2 separate regions of the Homo sapiens genome follow, and region 2 is linked to region 1. Evidence: promoter capture Hi-C in human tissues and cell types (Jung and others, 2019). All regions are on one chromosome and are shown on one strand. Each heading gives the region's core, a stretch centred on a gene start or on the middle of the fragment in contact. The rest is flanking DNA. Distances are from core to core; before and after follow the strand shown.

Evidence for each region. Contacts are between HindIII fragments. The study calls those that stand out against the background at their distance.
Region 2: a contact is called between a fragment that was not itself captured here and the fragment with the promoter of TMTC1 in region 1, in 1 of the 25 tissues and cell types used here (dorsolateral prefrontal cortex).

The regions. Positions count from the first base shown.
Region 1 is chr12:29,782,675-29,785,701 of GRCh38, reverse strand. TMTC1 (transmembrane O-mannosyltransferase targeting cadherins 1) reads left to right here and starts at 1,760. Exons shown (of 18, transcript NM_001193451.2): 1 at 1,760-2,252. The coding sequence starts at 1,951. The HindIII fragment of the contact is 32,748 bases long and covers 1-3,027 here.
Region 2 is chr12:30,501,252-30,504,326 of GRCh38, reverse strand. It overlaps the pseudogene LOC100422352. Among named protein-coding and RNA genes, the nearest start is that of IPO8, 190 kb to the left of the region's middle. The HindIII fragment of the contact is 6,385 bases long and covers 1-3,075 here.

The DNA.
Region 1 (3,027 bases), core at 511-3,010:
GTTAATTATAGGTAAGGATTGATACATTGACCTATTACCTCAACTATGATTTCAGCAAAGATAATTTCACTATCCCAATCAGCTGTTAACTTAGAAAGCTAGACTTTTATGGTGTTAACCACACACACATACAGACGCACACACACGAGCAGCTTTGGGTCTTCCAATCCTATACTTAGCACATTGTAGCACAAAGAATCTCCTTAATATATTTTTATTAAGTTAATAGGTGAATAGGAAAGGCTGTAGTGTGTTATACGGGGAAATAGACTCAGGTGTGTCTAGATATTAAAGTCGGTATATTAAGGTTACCAAGCGTGAAAGATTTTGATGGAAGAATGAAAACATCCATGTCCAGGACTTCCAGTTTCATTTCTCAGTCACTAATTTCAAGTCACCAAATAAACAAAGTGAAAATGGGTGAAACGTACTTTGAGTTACAATAAGTTTATCTTAATTCATTGACTTTTCAACTGCTCAGATGTCTTAAAATTTTTTAAAAAGTAAGTTGTTATAGTAAAGAGCCACACAAATACTCATAGCAGAGGAACAATTTCTGGATTATGTCGGTGAGCTTTTTAAGGGTTTGGGGAGGATGAGAATAAAAGGGTGACTTTTTATTTTCAGTTTTTCTATCTGGATGTGTCAAATTCCTGATAACTTCTAACACTCAGCAATGGAAATTTAGAAGGTGCCTGAAAGAACAAATAGAATTTTCAGACCTGGAGAAATTCTAGTAATCATCACTCTGGGACATATTATTAAAATTAGTATTTTAAAAAAGAAAACAATCTTTCAGAAAGACAGGAAGTTTAGGAGCCAAAGCCAGAGGCCCTAATACAAATCGCCCCCACCTCCCCATCCCCCCATCCCCACCTTCTTCCCCGCCCTGTTCAAACACGCCCACAGCCCAGGAAATAATGAGACCCAAGTGATCCAGCTAGATAGAAAAAGTAGTTTGCTTGGCATCTCCCAAATTATCTTGAGCAAACAATAAAATAAGAAATGTTTCAGAAGACAATTCGGCTCCCAGGCCCAAACCAAAACTCGAACCTGGTACTTTTTGTAAGTGCGGGCCAAGAAAGGGGCTGTAAAGTTAAAGAGCCGGTGGCGCCTCTGAACACACCCGGGCAGGGCGAGCAGGATGTCCTTGTCCAGGGAGACCCCTTCTCCTGGCTTTGAGGAAGGTGCTCCCTATCCCCGCGGGTTCCTCCGCCAAGCGGGACGCCGCGCCGGGCGGGTGAGAGAAAGCCCGGGCAGGAGAGCACAGAGCCGGCGACTGGACGCGAGCGCGGGGCGGGTGGAGAGCGTCTCTCCGGGCGCCGCTGCTGTTGTCCCGGGTGCTGAAAAGCCGGGAACTTCCCGGGAAGCAGCGGCACTTTTCTCCCTGGAAGGTGGGTGTGGGGGTTCCAGACTGCGCACCTGCTAAACCCTCCTGGGTCCCCCGGGAGGGGTCCGCCAGATGTGCCCCTTCCCAGCCCCATTCGGGGGAGAAGGATGGGGGCGGGGGCGTGGGGGTGAGCACAGCCGGACACCGCAAGTGGGAACCTGGGGTGTCCTTCCCCGCAGCTCCCGGGCAGCCGCGCGCCGCGAACCCCGGTCCACCTGCAAGCAAGGCGGGCCGGGGGCAGAGGGCGCCGGGCTGTGCGGGGGAACCGGCCCGCGTCCCGGGATTGGGGGGCGGTGGAAGAGAGAGCGAGCGGGCATGCGCAGTGGGGCGGAGGAGGTGGCGATGGCCGGGGGAGGCGGGGGGACTGCTGTTTATTTGCAGCTGGGCCAACTCCGCGGCGCAGGCGGCGGCGGAGCGCGGGGAGCTCGCGGCGGGTCCAGCTGCCGCAGCACCATGCCCGAGCCCCCCTCCGGGCAGACGCCGCGCGCCGCCGGGGCCCCGGTAGGGGAGGATGCCAGACGCCCGGGAGAGGCCAGGGCAGCAGCGGCGGCGGCGGCGCGATGGTGGTGACCACCTCTGCCCGAGGCGGCGGCGGGGACCGCACACCCTCCCGGCGGCGGGGCTGCGGGCTAGCGCCGGCCGGGGCCGCGGCGCTGCTGGCCGGGGCAAGCTGCCTGTGCTACGGCCGCTCCCTGCAGGGCGAGTTCGTGCACGACGACGTGTGGGCGATCGTGAACAACCCCGACGTGCGGCCCGGCGCCCCGCTCCGCTGGGGCATCTTCACCAACGACTTCTGGGGCAAGGGCATGGCCGAGAACACCAGCCACAAGTCCTACCGGCCGCTCTGCGTCCTCACCTTCAAGTGAGTCCCTCACCTCGCGCTAGCCGCCGCTGCCTCCTCTACCCTCCGCCCGTCCCTCGGACCGGGAGAAGTTGCGGGACTGACTTGGGGGCATTTCATTTTTGCCGCCCTTTCCCTCCACGCCTCCCTCCTCTCCAGGATGTGCATGGCACTTTGCTCCGGGATCCACTGCCCGGCTAATCTGGGCTCTCGGGGCGGTTCGGGAGGCGCCGGCTGGGGAGTTGGGATCGAGTTTCTCAACTGTCTGCCCTCTCAGCGGGCTTCTCTCTCGAGGCAGGGCTGGGAGCGGGCTGGTGAAACCGCCTCCGCACCCCTTCGCCTGCCGGATCGTGACCAAGTGGGACTAGCGCGGACCCAGAGGGTTCCGGAGGGGTGGCGGTGGTGGCGATGCTTCCAAGTAGAGAATTTCTCGGAGGCTGTTGGGCAGCTTTGCAGATGAGAAGTGTATCAGCCCCTTAAGGGTTTCGTTCAGATGAGACGAGGCGGGAGCCTTGAGCTGACAGGGCTGCGTGGGTTCAGGAGAGGGAGCAGAAAACTCTCCCGAGCCCCCCAGCCCCCGCCTTGCACCCTTGGCTGCTCCCAGAGGCTCTCCAATCTGCCAGACTTCTCTGGATCTAGACTTTAGAAGGTGCAGAGAGAGGTAACGCAGAGCCTAGGCTTCTCCAGGGACCCTGGGGCCCCAGCCGAAATAGTTTTTCTTTTACAACCTCGGAGTCATGATTCAGCGTTTCTGGTGTGAATAAGCGTAAAGGGAACCGAGAATATGCCAGGTTTT
Region 2 (3,075 bases), core at 494-2,993, 720 kb before region 1:
AGAGGCTTATGAAGAGATGACAGCCATCCACAACCCATGAGAGGGGTCTGAAACACGTTTCTCTCCCAGCCCTCAAAAAAGAACCAATCCTGCCAACACCAAGATGTTGGCAGATATACCTTAAATAAAGGTATTTTATATAAGGTGTATCTCTTATAAGGAACATAATATTTATTTTTTTTCCTTTCAGACAAGATCAGTTGTGTTCAGGGTGGTATGGCCATAGATGGTTTCTTCTTTTCAATTCAGACTAATAATCTTAATTTTTAAATTGAAGCATTCAGTCTATTTGTATTTAATGCAACTCCTGACATATTTCAATGTATTTACTTTTTTCTTAATTAACCAGGCCAGTTTTGTGTTCTTTTTTGCTGTTTGGTATTTATATTATTTTGATTTTATAAATGAGCAATCCTTGACTTTGAGAGGTAATACAAATTAACTAAGTTCGTATCCTGGTAAATAGCAGAGTTCCTGAGGAAAGAAAACAGAAAACTGGCCAACAGGACAGTGTGGTAGAGGAGAAAGAGCTCTGGGATTAGAATCCAAAATACCAGCTCCCCACTGAACTGCTGTGTGACTTTCTCCAGTCTACTTCCTTTTCTGAAAGTTAAGAGTGATGATACATATCCTACCAACCACTCTGAGTGGTTCAGTTCACATGAGAAGTGAAAGTGCTTTGTGAATTGGTTTTCCACAGGACTGGGCCCTGTTTGAGGGGTGGAAACAGGAGGTTGGTAGAGAGACCTGCCCAAGGTGACTGAAGAAAGGATGGGGAGTCATCACGTGAGGACAGGGATTTGAGGGCAGGCAGCTCCCGCACAGCAGGCGGGCTCCAGAGGCAACTCATGGAGTGTTGCACTTCTTTGTTTATTTATTTTTTCCTTATTGCTATTAATCTAAAATTGTTCACGTTTCTCTTTCAGAACACTTTTAGATTGGAAAGATTTTGATCATCTCAAAAGTCTTGGATATAAAAATTCAGTCTGTGTGGCAGGGAACAGCTCACTCCTGACTGGTTGAAGATAGGAGGTTGAAGAAATAAATGAACTTGAAGCAGACTTGAAGTTTCATGCCTGAGATCCTAAAGTAAGATAATGTTTGTAAGGCTGATTGCTAATCAAGATGCCTTATTTCTCAGATTTTTTTAATCTGAATTATTCCTTCCTCAACCAACATCCCGATTTAGGAGCTGTTATAAGTCATCACTCAAGATAAGGATTTAAAAGGACTGGATTGCAAATGCAGCCAGCAAAGCTTAGAAGCCTAAAGGGGTGGGAAAATGAACTCCCCAATATGGGAAATAAATGGCAGTTCTGATGATTGGCAAAGCGGTCTGGCTTCTTCCAGAAATATTTATAAAGGCATAAATTAATGGCATTCCAGTTTCTCAAGGAGAATGAAAATAAAAATCCCCAAACATTCTAATTTCTCTAAGAGAATATAAACATAAAAGCAAGAGGGTCCTAACAGTGTCGCTCGTATCCACAGTGCTTCTGTGCAGAACCGTCTTCTCTGCACAGTTTCCTGCAGCCATCATGGCAAAAAATAGAATGATGGGAAAGATATTCCCTTCCAAATCAGGAGATTCCATGCTATGGGTTTCTTAACAACCTTCTCAGGTTAAGAACTTCAACAGAAATTGTAAGTTGAATAGATGATCTGGCGAGGAGGGGGATAGAGAGTCACTTGCAATGTCATTTCAATAATTAACAATCCGTTTATATACAAATAACTCCCAAATGTTGAGAAAGTGGGAAAGTACTTTCACCACCATTTTATAGATAACTCAGTTTTATATAAAAAGCTAAGCATAAACATATTCTAAATGAACTGAAAAAGTCCTGAATAAAAACACGTTCTACATGAAGTGAAAGAATTCTCATTCTCACCTTATACAAAGCATTTAAATGAATTTCTTTGGAACAATTCCGTTTGATAAGTTTCTAATATGTAAGGTTACTTATTTTCTCCTGAGAACAAATACAAGATTTCTGGGTCAGAGACACGCTGATTGTTTACTTATAGGATATCTTGGTGTTGGTTTTCCAGTCCCCCGTTTCCCCTTTGGGTGATTCTATGGGAGCAGATGTCACCCTGGATGTACAGAGGTGTAGAAGGAGAATACAATATGGAAGAACTCCCAAATTGTGAATGCAAGTGCTTATATAGGAACTGCTGGTTCCTATACAACCTATTCAAATGTTGGTTCAGGTGCTCCCTCCTTTTTAGGGGGAAGGAGGGAAACCTTATGTTTTTAATGCAAAGAAATCCTCTGTTGGAAAAAAAGCAAAAGGTCCTAGATGTTATAGCTCTTTAAAATATAAATGTTAGGCTCAGGAATTTATTACCATTTGAACTGTAAATAAAGAAACCCAGAGGCAAATAAACCTGTAAATCTCTCAGGAGTAATTCACTGTCTCCAACTTCCAAGGCGTGGCTGTTGATCAACTTGTTGTTAACCCAAGTTGCTGGTAGTTTTTGCTCAGGAAGCCATGACTCTGCGGAACACAAAAAATACTGGTTATTTCTTAACACCATAAAATGTATTTTGGTAGCATTGTATTTCCCATGCATGGACAAGTAATTATTTTATCTGGAGGCTGCACAGCATAAGAGTGTAGAAGATAATGGTGAAAAGTAACTGGATTATGAAAAGTCCTGAATGCTAAAAAGTTTGGACAATATATGTGTAGACAATGGGTAATCAATGAATATCTCTGACCTCCTAAATTTAGAGGAGGAGTGTTATCAGATACAGAAGGAACAAACTACGTGACCACATCAGCACAGAATAAGAGACTTTCAAAAAAGTGAGGGTCAGAGTCCGTAGGAGTAAAAAAGTAGGAGAATAGGAGGAATGGGAATGGCAAGAGATTCAACAGTGTCAAACCCTTCATTTTTGAGGAAAACAAGAGGGCTGAAGCCCAAGAGAAGGCCCTTAGGAATTCACTTTAGATGAACTCTGTATTCTCTCTCTCTTTTTTTTTTTCTTTTTTTATGAGACAGAGTCTCGCGCCATCTCTCAGGCTGGAGTGCAGTGGCTCCATCTCGGCTCACTGCAACCTCTGCCTT